2 separate regions of the Homo sapiens genome follow, and region 2 is linked to region 1. The links are contacts of gene promoters, found by promoter capture Hi-C in human tissues and cell types (Jung and others, 2019). All regions are on one chromosome and are shown on one strand. Each heading gives the region's core, a stretch centred on a gene start or on the middle of the fragment in contact. The rest is flanking DNA. Distances are from core to core; before and after follow the strand shown. Region 1 holds the start of FCRL6 (Fc receptor like 6). Region 2 holds the start of F11R (F11 receptor).

Region 1 (5,810 bases), core at 268-2,767:
GATTTCCAGGAAGAACTTTACTGTCAGAAAATGCTTAGCCAGGCATGGTGGTGCATGCCTGTAATCCCAGCTACATGGGAGGCTGAGGCAGGAAAATCACTTGAACCTGGGAGGCGGAGGTTGCAGTGAGCCAAGATTACACTCCAGCCTGGGCAACAGAGCAAGACTCCTTCTCAATAAAAAAAAGAAAAAAGAAAGAAAAGAAACAAGAAAATGAAAATGCTTCCTAGTATTTTGCCTGACTCTGTGTTTCACCGTGAACTCCCATGTTCTGTCCACAGAGGAGATGAGAATGTGTGACCTCTTTTTCTGTTGAGGGAACATTGAATAATTTCCAGTTTTTATCTATTACAAATGATGCTGCTATGAGCACTCTTGTATATGTTTTTTCAGGCTTATATGTATACATTTCTGTTTGACATTTACCCAGGAGTGAAAATGCTGAGCCATCAGGGATCCCTGTGTTTAGTTTTGGTAGATTCTGCCAAGCCATTTTCTAGTGACTGTACCAATTTATATTCCCACTAGTGGTGTACAAGAGTTCTAGTTTCTTCACATCCTCACCAATACTCAGTAGAGGATTGCATGGGGAGGGTCACGGGCTCCCCCAGACCCAGCTCAGTCTCAGCTGGTATCACTCCCTTATTCTTATGGAAGGTGTAGTGGTATCTTATTATGGTTTAAATTTGCATTTCCACGGTGATTTATGATGTCTAGCTCCTTTTGCTATGTTGATTTGACACGTGGATATCTGCTTCTGTGAAGTACCTATCCAATTATTTTTGCCCATTTTTCTAGTATGTTGTCTGTCCTTTTCTTACTGACTTGCAGAAATTCTTATATTTCTTCTGTGGGCCCTTTGTCAGCTACATGTATTTAAACTATCTCATCACACCACAGCTTGCCTGTTCCTTCTCTTAATGGTGTCTTTTAAGGAATAGTTCTCAAAATCATACTGACAGTCTTAAAAGCCTCAGATGCCGAAGCTCCATCTGTGTTCTACTCCAGACTCATCGATGTCTGATTCCCTCCTGAACTGAGGATCCTGTGAAGCATCCTCAGGGCTCCACTTCTCCATCGCATTGCAGCATCCACACACATTTACCTCTGGAGACAGGAGCTCCTTGGAAGCTGGGAGGTCACTCGGTGGTCAAGGGGTAGATGATCTTAGTTTTACAGTGCTGCGCTGTCTCCCAGGCTGAATGACGCTGAAGCCAAGCAAATTCGGGCAGTCTCTGGACCTTTCTAATGGAGGTGTCCCATAACCATGTTCCATCCTAGTTCCCTGGCATAGGCTTGTTGAAGCTGCAGAAAATGTCAGGGATTTATTAGTGATTTACCGACTCCTTCATACTTAGTGTTCAGGAAAATTTATTCATGTAATACTTCTTCAACCAAAGAGGAAATATCAATTAGAGCTTTGTAAGTTTCTTTTCCACTTCCTATTTTGGCTATCAAGCTATAGCACCACCCAGCTCAGGCCACCCACCCACCTTCGGTCCTGAGGCCTGGTTGCTCTCTGCCGGCTTCGCCCTGACCTGTTTCTGACCTGTGTTCCCTCCGCTGTGCCAGAACAGGCCCCATGCTGCTCTGGACGGCTGTGCTGCTCTTTGGTAAGTCAACGAGCATGGGCATCCCCTCTTGGAGCACTAAGGACCGTAAGTCATCCCTGAGACACCAAGTTCCTCATCTTACCTTTCCCAATTCCAGTGGGTTTGTGGCTGGAGCTCAAGACAGGTGTGTGCACCTGGGCATGCTTGGGAGAGATGGGCACTGGGGTAGGAGAAACTCCTCAGTGTTTCCTACCCCGTAGTCCTGGGTCCTTGGCAGCGCAGCCCTTTGATATGTCAGAGATAAATTAGGGAGGCAGAAAATCACATTACAAAGTCCCCTAACTTCCCAATGACATTTCTACCTTGTGACATCAGGTTAAAATACTAATCAGAGCTGTCTCAAAAGGAAATGGAGGTTGCAGGAGGGAAGGAGGCTGCTGGGGGCAACAGGGAAGGAGTCAGGGAAATGAGGGGAAACAGTCCCAGGCATTTTGCTCAGCAATGGGAGGTGGAATTTTACAGGGTGACATATTTTTATGGAGCCTCAGCATTTTCTTAGAACCAGGTAACAATGGCCAGACCTCTCACCTGGTTGAAAGGCCTGTGCTCTGAGTAACCAAAGCCCTTTTCAAATTGACTGTCTCTCTTCCGCCTACATCTTCTCTCTGTTGGGAGCTGTTTCAGATCCATGGGGCTGGTTTGAAGAATCAACTCCATTGTCTGATCCATGTCTCTCTCTCTCTTCTCTCCATTTCTTCTCATGCAGGCTACTTGTAACTAAGAGAGCTGGTCTAAGGGTAGAGGATTGCACGCAGAGGGTCACTGGGCTCCCCCAGACCCAGCTCAGTCTCAGCCAGTGTCACCCCCCTTATACCTAAAAGAAATAATTTGGCATATATTTTGTTTCACTTTACAGTTTCCAAGTGGACCTACTTTTTGTTTAATTCTTGGTCCCAATAGCTTGCTTGCTATTTGTATTCCTTGAACTAGAAAAGCAAAACTGTTCCTAAATATAACCTCTTCCTGGACAGAGTTTGTGAGAATTTGACCCTGTGAGGAAAATGCCCCTTCCACTCAATGTTCCTTCTCCAGCATAGCATGCTACTCGTGTGTTCTATGAATGGCCATTTGGACAAATGAAAAGGTCTAATGCTCACACTGAGGCGGGGACAGGATAGCCTAATGCCTGGATATACTCCAGGCAGAAGACTCCCAGGGGCAAATGGCACTACCGGCACTACCTTGTAAAAGGAACAGCCCTTGGACTTGTCTAGATACAGTCTGAGAGTGTTCCAGCTTGGAACCCAGGACGAGGATGACAGACAGCAAATGAGGAGAGGAAGGGAATCAGTGACCGGCTGACTGGTGCACAGTGTAATGGAGAATCCAGCACCAGCAAATTTGGTCCCACTTGATGCTCAGGGACCCTGGAAAAACAGCCTAAAACACAGACACTGGGGCTGGGTGTGTAGCAACATTTATCTTACCATAAGTGTAGAGCTGCTATTTCCTCTCTCAAGAGCAGGGTGTGGTCATAATAAATTGGTGGCTATTACTATTATTGGCTGTCAGGGCTCCGGGAGGAAAGGAATCCTGACATTGAGCATGTGGGGACCTGGCTGAATGTGAAATATGTATTTAAAGTTTGGGAAATTAGGCTTAATTTTCTTCTGAGCTGAACATTAGCCAACTTCCCTCCTACCACTGGAGGCTGCTCCCCGCATTCTCACACAGCGTCCATAGGAGGTGTCATGGGGTCCCATACAGCCCTCCCAGCAATGTGACTGCTGCAGCTTGGCACTGCAGCCTGTTCCACAGTGCTAGAGCTCAGTGGTGAGAGAGTTCTTCATGTTGAGCCGAAATCTGCCTCCATGATCCCTCTAGTTTCCATTTCTGTCCTATAAAGTAACTCAGAATAAGTCTCCCCCTTCTTTTAAGCTTAGCCCACCAAGTATTTTGTGTCTTTCCTCTGTTGCATCTTTCCCAGATAAATATCTCCCGATCCCTCAGAAACTTTAAGAGGAAATTATCCTGCTCCTAGAGTTGGCAGGGGCTCCTGCCTTCATTTTTCGGAATTCTATTACGCAACTTGGTTTGACCATAGCTCTTGGCCACTTCATGATACTGTCACCTCATCTTCAGCCTATAGCTAATGGAGGTCCCTGGGCCCTCATTGCAGGAACTGCTGTAAGCAGGTGTCACCCCCTGTGTATGTTCCCAGTTGGCTGCTGTTTTGATTGCAGAAACCAATTTTGTAATCCCACCTCCAAGATCTTGCAGTACCATGGGGAGCAAGTCATTGAGATTTGGGGACAGGAGCTCATTTTAAGTGCATCTATGCTTCCTGAGTGCCTTCTGTCTTGTTTTTGGCTTCAGTAGTCTCAACCCTGTTTGTTTAGCACTTTGTAGCTGCACAATTGTTTTCCAGTGAGGTGGGGAAGGGAAGGAAGACATAACTACAGAGTAAGGTCTCTGTCACTCTGAGGTCAGGCCTTCTTTCTGCTTTCAGTTAATGTAGTAACCACTTTCCCAGGCAGTGGGTCAACATAACCTTCACAACTACACTGTAAGAAAAAAATGACTATTATCATTTCTATTATGTGATATGACAGAATGAGATATTGAAGGCTCTTGGAACTTAGACAACTTGTTCAAGGTCGTACAGAAAGAGGCAAATTCATGACTCAAGTCCAGGTCATCTGATTCCAAATCCTGCATGCTTTCCACTACACCGAGCTCATAGATGGGGGTTAGGGGTGGAGATGGAGGGATGATAAAGAAGAGACTCATTGTTCTGCACACTCTTGAGAGCATATGACTGAGCTGACCCTGAGCTGAATAGAGAATTGAGCTGAAAGATTCCACCTGTGTCCAAAGTAGTGTAGAAAGCAAAGATGATACCATGTGACAGAGCCAAACATCTGCTCTTAGAGGGTTTTCACCCACCCTTCCCAAGGCCATTCTTGCATTTTTTTTTTGGTGTTATGTAAAATACCTAGGACATGCCAGCAATGCAGGACACAAGTAAATGTATGAGGATTGGCTGGACTGACTGCACTCAGCCCTACATTCATTCATTGTTTCACACCTTGCCCCAAAGTCCAGAAGATTCTTCACTGCTTCATATCCAGCTATGACCTTCAATTTCAGGTCTTCCATTGTTTGGGCTATTCAAACCTATCTAACCATATCTGTCATCATTTTGTGAGTTGGCCCCTCTTCCCAGGTCACCTGTTCTCACACATTCACTCATTTAAAAACATGAATGTAGCACATCCAAGATGCAAGCATGATGTGGGATGCATCCAGTTTGTTTGTAGTTCTCTCATTCATCCATGCTGCCTGATAATGTCTCACATCCTTTAATGATTACTCTTTCAGGGGACTTATCCTCCTCAGTCTGGTCACTTCCATACCCTTTTTGCCAGAGCTCTGTGGAGAGATGGGACCACAAGAATCAGGTCCTGCCCTTGCTATATGGGTTCTCCTGTAGATGTTGGAGGTAGGACCCTCAGGCACATTCGTACAAGAGTCTAGTCCTATGTTTTCTACTTTTTGCTTCCCACCTCGTACAATGGGATGCAAAGGAAAACATTCATGCATTTATTCAGCAGATGCTTACTGAACACAGACTATGTTCCAGGCACAGGTCTTGGGCATAGAAAATATAGCAATGAGTAAAATAAGCAGAGTCCCTGCTACTATGGAGCTTATATTCTAGCCAGAGAGAGAGGTGATAACATGTAGGCAATTTAATGAATAAGATAAATTCAAATAGTGATAAGTGTTTTGAAGATAATACAATGGGGCATTGTTTTAGTGATTGGGGAAAATTCTTTTGATTGGAGTCCCAGGGAAGACCTGTTTGAGAAGGCAACATTTGAACTGTGATAGGGCAAAGAGTTCTAGGGAGTACGTCCAGCACAAACGTTGAGTAGTCAAGTGGCCGGGTGGTTGGGTGGTTGGGTGGTTGGATGGTTGGATGGTTGGGTGGTTGGATGGCTGATGGCTGGGTTGTTTGGTGGTTGAGTGGTTATGTGGTTGGATGGTTGGATGGCTGTGTGGATGGGTGGCTAGGAGGTTTGGTGGCCGGGTGGTTGGTTGAATGGGTGTAAGTCCCCATTGCTGAAGTGACAGGCCTCCTTGTCAGAAAGCTCTTTTTGCTACTTAACCTAATTGTGTTACTTTGTTCTCTTGCAGTTCCCTGTGTTGGGAAAACTGGTAAGTTGTGTCCATGTCTCTTCTAATTCAAAGTAT
Region 2 (5,810 bases), core at 1,671-4,170, 1.2 Mb after region 1:
CATTAGGTTCCCCAAGCTGGGGCCAGGCCTTTGCCTGACTTGTCAGTCCTATCTTGCCTTTTCTACTTCCTCCCTGACAGCAGAGCCCACAATGAAGAACAGGGAGAACATATGGGCAACCTATCCACGCCTCTCAGGGACAGTGGACAAGCTAGACACCCAAGAAAAAGCTCCTGCTTTTTGATTTCTGACTCTAGCCATTTGGGATCTCCCTGCTTCCTTTTTTACCTACTCAGCTAGGGACAGCATTCTGGCATTCTTCCATCCTCACAAAATCCACAGGGGATAACAGCTGCCCAAAAATAATCCCTTCATGTATATGTAATGTAACTATTATGCTGGTTGATCCTCCTGACAAAGGTGGGACAAGTATTACTGCTATTTTACAGATGAAAAGACTGAGCTACTGCCTAAGATCACAAACAAGGCAGAGAGAAAGCCAAGCTAGAATGCAGGTATGGTGGCCCAGCTCCCATTTCCATCCTCATTTGCACTAACCAAATCACTCCCCTCCCCCAACCCAACCCCAGATCTAGCCTGATTTAAAAGTTACAAGGTCAGTTCCTCCATCCCCTGGACAAGTCACTTCCCAGGACCCACTGTCCTAACAGGCTAATGCGACATCATCTCAGGTTCCCTCTGCACTACTGTGGCTTGGTTCCCTGAAGACACCTCCAAGCTCAAAATGGTGTTATCATGACCTTCCAGTGCCAGTATATGATTATTTTAGGATTATCATAAATAATATAGGAAATTAGAGGGAGAAAAAAGAAAGGAAGCAGTGGCAAAGGATAGGGAGTAAGCAGCTCCAGGAAGCTTTTAAGCCTGACAAATACTGTCACAGACAAACACTGTTACAAATACAGTCACTCACACAGAAGAAACTTCTGGGCTTAGGGGAAAAATACTGGCACAGTACAAAGGTTGGAAAAACCTTTAGTACCAGAACCACATAACCAAAAATTGACTATGGGTGTCACTAGCAGTTCTAAAATACAGGCAGAAGTAAAATAGGCAAGGGGTAGGGAAAAAAGGGAAATTAAAGAAAAGGGAACTCAAAGAGTAGAAAAAAAGGAAGACATGGCCAGCCGCGGTGGCTCACACCTGTAATCCCAGCACGTTGGGAGGCCGAGGCGGGTGGATCACCTGAGAGCAGGAATTCAAGACCAGCCCGACCAACATGGTGAAACCCCATCTCTACTAAAAACAAAAAATTAGCCGGGCGTGATGGTGCATGCCTGTAATTCCAGCTACTCGGGAGGCTGAGGCAGGAGAATCGCTTAAACCCGGAAGGCGGAGGTTGCGGTGGGCCAAGATGGCACCATTGCACTCGAGCCTGGGCAACAAGCGAAACTCTAACTCAAAAAAAAAAAAAAAAAAAGAGGGAGACATGAATGAAGAAGCTAGTGGGAAAGTAAGTTTAAAGGTAAGTAAGACAGTAGATTCTGAAGCAGTATCCCAAACAGTTCTTGTGCTATAGGGTGCCTGAGATGCTGGATCAAAGAATGGAAAAAGGAAAAGCAAGTCAAGAGGGTTTGGTTCCATTCCCAGGTTCCACCCCTAACTCTATTGTCATTGAAGTCATTTCCCCTTTTGGACTTGTTTCCTTATCAGTAAAATAGAAAGAGGATGATATATGCCTCTGGTCCAATCTCTCCCAAGGGTTTATGTTGTGATAAGGTAGAAATGAGCAGTCAATCCATCTAAGGGCAGGGAATCTACATACACCAAACTGATTGTAATCATTCATTTAACACTTTCTAAAACAAGAACCTTGGGGGTGGGGGGAGACTCATGTAGAACACATACTGACACAACTACTCACACAACGACACGCACACTCAAGAATCAGATAAACACACAGGTACTGCCACAGGTTGACTAACGCACAAACCAACCGACTAAACGCTCAGCCCCACACAAACACATCTAGAGACAGAGGCATGCCCTAGCAAGTGAGCCTCATTGTTCCTCAGGAAAGGGAGTTTACAAAGGAAACAAAAACTCTCATACACAGCCAGAGGGAGGGCAGAGCTCTGGCTCTGATGAGAATCCAGCCAACCAACAGATACACTCTCCCCCTGGGAAGAGTCACTCAATCAACAACACGTATTAAGGACTCCTGAGGTAGTTATTCCATAAAGGAACTTCGCTGGAACCTCTGCTGCGCTTAGAGAAATTTCAGGTTTCTATTGCATTTCCTCTTTAGACTGTGCACCCAGACATTTTCCCAGAGCAACCGCCGCAATTCAAAGATTCAGAAGAGCCAGAGACTCCTTCAGCAAAAGCTAGGGGAAGAGACTTCCACCCCAGACCACCTCCATTTGATTTTCTTCGAAGACCGTTAAAGGAGCCAAGGCTCCCGGCTGCGCAGCGGGGTTCGTGGATGCTGGGTGGCCGTTGGAGGGGCAGGCTGGCCCTTCCCAGGTGCGTGTGGAGCGCGCGCTGGGTAGATGAGTGTGGAAGGGTCCTTGGCCCGACGGCCCTCTCCAGTGAGGACGAGGAGTGTACCTCTGGTGTGTGCAGATGGGTCAGCTCCCTCCTGGTGGCCGTGAGGGGTGCGGTCACAACTCACCAGTGTGGGGGAGGGGAGCCAGCCACTCACCCAGCTGTGAGAGTGGTGAAAGAGGGACCAGCCAGGGGTGGAAAAGATAATTCGCAGAACGATATAGGAAGGTTTCTGAGCTCCTCCCCTCCCGCGGGCTAGGGGCGTGGGGAGAGCCTTCCTCCAACCTCTGACCCGACCAACCGATTCCTCCCGAAACTCTGGGAACTTACACAACAGGATCGCCAATATGAAGAGGCACAACAGTTTCCTCTCGACTTGCGCCTTTGTCCCCATCGCGATCAGGCTCCCGACACAACAGCCGCCGAAGGACTCCTGGGAACAGACACAGCTCCGCGACTACAGCGAGGGGACTGAGAGCCAGCCGCCAGGTGGAACCCCGCCCGGCCCCGCCCTCCGCGCCTGATTGGCCAGCTCCCCACCCCTGCACGTTCCGATTGGTGTAAGGAACCGCTGCTCTTCAGAACGAGTCACCTCGGCCAGGTGTTACCCCGCCGCCACTCCCCGCCTCGGCGCACTGGCGCCTTTCCCCACAGGAGCTGCCTCAGATTGGCCCAGGAGACTGTCGCGTCAGGAGACGAATTCCGCACCTTCAGCAGGTGACGGCCCCCTGATTGGTTGGTGTTCCCGAAGTAGCGACTTCCTGACTGGCTGGGTTCTCAGTTGGAGCTAGAGGGCTGAGAAGTACCTCTAAGGAGGAAGTAGGAAAGGCAGTCGTGGTGTGGGATTTACGGAGACCGGCTTGGCTTGGGGTTTTGTGTTTGTTTGAATGTAAGTTGCTTGGTGCAACTGCACCTGCAGTTTGGTCCTGCAGAAACTTTGGTCCTGCCTCTTGGCAAGTAAAAAACAAATATTAATATGGGAGGGTAGGGGAGAAGACCCGGAGAGAAATGGAATGTTACTTTGGCACCACCTCCAAACTGTTCCTCTGTCCACCCCACCGGCTTTGAGAGATGAGCTACGCTGGGAGGAAGAAAGGGGAAAAAAAAGGGAAAGGGAGCACTCAACTGGAAAATGGGAGCCTGGGCAGTATAGTCCCAGCTACTTGGGAGGCTGAGGTGGGAGGATGGCTTGAGCCCGGAGGCGGAGGTTGCAGTGAGCCTAGATCGCGCCACTGAACTACAGCCTGGGCGACAGAGCCAGACCCTGTCTCAAAAAACAAACAACAACAACAAAAATTTAAAAACCCACAACAACACAACTTGGGAAGAGCAGAATTACGTTATCTCAAGAAGAAAGTTAAACAGATGTACACAAAACACACCCAGATGATACAAACTGAGCTGAACATGCTCTAGAAACATCTCTGGGTGACTGGATATGTCCTTTACACATATTTGATCTGTGAACAGGTCCCTACATTTCAGAATTGTTTGTTTTCTCACTGTGACTAATAGTTGTGTGCTGACTAAGCCACCTTTTTTCTATAGACAATGTTGATACTCAAACTTTCTGTTAATATTTATATTGCTACATCATTTTTAATTGAAATTCATGCTCAACACCTTTGCTAGTTGTAGTTTCTATTTTACGATGATTTAATTTTAACTGTACTAAGCATATGCAGACTGTGGGGAAAAAACTTCCTTAGCATTACCTCATTGCAAGGGAAAAGACCACATTTTTATCCAAAAGAATGATATTGTTTGACATTTTGCCTTTTTCACCTTTGCTCTCATTCCTTTGTCCCCATCTCTTTGGCCAAAGTTCTGCTTCTGGTTCCATTCAATTTAAACCACCTACTGGGTGCTTAATAGTCTTGGCCGGGTGCGTGGCACACGCCTATAATCCCAGCACTTTGGGAGGCCGAGGTGGGTGGATCACCTGAGGTCAGTCTGACTAACGTGGTGAAACCCTGTCTCTACTAAATACAAAAAAAATTAGCCGGGCGTGGTGGCACATGCCTGTAATCTGAGCTACTTGGGAGGCTGAGACAGGAAAATCGCTTGTACCTGGGAGGAGGAGGTTGCAGTGAGCTGAAATCGCGCCATTGCACTCCAGCCTGCTGGGCATCAAGAGCGAAACTCCGTCTCAAAAAAAAAAGAAAAGAAAAGAAAGAAATTTAAAGTCTTGGAGAAAGGTATATACACTGACAGCTGGGCTCTGTGACGTGTGCCTGTAATCCCAGCTACTCAGGAGGCTGAGGCAGGAGGGGAGGATCACTTAAGGCCAGGAGTTTGAAACCAACCAGGGCAACATAGGGAAAAGACTCTGTGTCTAAGAAATTTTATTTATTTATTTATTTTTGAGACGGAGTCTTGCTCTGTCGCCCAGGCTGTAGTGCAGTGGCGCGATCTCTGCTCACTGCAAGCTCCGCCTCCCGGGTTCACGCCATTCTCCTGCCTCAGCCTCCGGAGTAGCTGGGACTACAGGCGCCCGCCACCATGCCTGGCTAATTTTTTTTTGTATTTTTAGTAAGACGGGATTTCACCGTGTTAGCCAGGATGGTCTCAATCTCCTGACCTTGTGATCCGCCCGCCTCGGCCTCCCAAAGTGCTGGGATTACAGGCGTGAGCCACCGCGCCCAGCCTATTTATTTATTTTTATTTTTATTTATTTATTTGTTTTTTGAGACGGAGTTTCACTCTTGTTGCCCAGGCTGGAGTGCAATGGCGCGATCTCGGCTCACCGCAACCTCCGCCTCCCGAGTTCAAGCGATTCTCCTGCCTCAGCCTCCCTAGTAGCTGGGATTACAGGCATGTGCCACCACGCCTGCTAATTTTGTATTTTTAGTAGAGACGGGGTTTCTCCATATTGGTCAGGCTGGTCTCAAACTCCCGACCTCAGGTGATCCGCCCACCTCGGCCTCCCAAAGTGCTGGGGTTACAGGCATGAGCCACCGTGCCCGGCCTTTATTTATTTATTTTATTTTTGAAACAGGGTCTTGCTCTGTTGCCCAGGCTAGAGTGCAGTGGTGCAATCATGGCTCACTGCAACCTCCACCTCCTGGGCTCAAGCAATCCTCCCACCTCAGTCTCCTGAGTAGATGGGACCACAGGCGTTGCCACATCCTGCTAATTTTTTCTTTCTTTCTTTCTTTTCCTTCCTTCCTTTCTTCCTTCCTTCCTCTCTCTCTCTCTTTTCTTTGTTTTTGTTGTTTTGTTCTGTATACACGATGTCTTGCTATGTAGCCCAGGCTAGTCTTGAACTCCTGAGCTCAAGTGATCCTCCCACCTCAGCCTTCCAAAGTGCTGGGATTATAGGCGTGAACCACCATGCCCCGCCAGAAAATTAAATTTAAAAT

The links. Contacts are between HindIII fragments. The study calls those that stand out against the background at their distance.
Region 2: the fragment with the promoter of F11R here is called in contact with the fragment with the promoter of FCRL6 in region 1 in 1 of the 25 tissues and cell types used here (adrenal gland).

What each region holds. Positions count from the first base shown.
Region 1 is chr1:159,800,843-159,806,652 of GRCh38, forward strand. It overlaps FCRL6 (Fc receptor like 6), which reads left to right and starts at 1,518. Exons shown (of 10, transcript NM_001004310.3): 1 at 1,518-1,613; 2 at 5,754-5,774. The coding sequence starts at 1,583. LOC105371464 (a long non-coding RNA gene) reads right to left here. Exons shown (of 3, transcript XR_922195.2): 1 at 1,696-5,810; 2 at 1,106-1,305. The HindIII fragment of the contact is 7,287 bases long and covers 1-5,240 here.
Region 2 is chr1:161,018,232-161,024,041 of GRCh38, forward strand. It overlaps F11R (F11 receptor), which reads right to left and starts at 2,921. Exons shown (of 10, transcript NM_016946.6): 1 at 2,779-2,921. The coding sequence starts at 2,842. RefSeq lists enhancers at 2,162-2,291, 2,302-2,351, 2,652-2,901, 3,054-3,651. The HindIII fragment of the contact is 9,306 bases long and covers 1-5,810 here.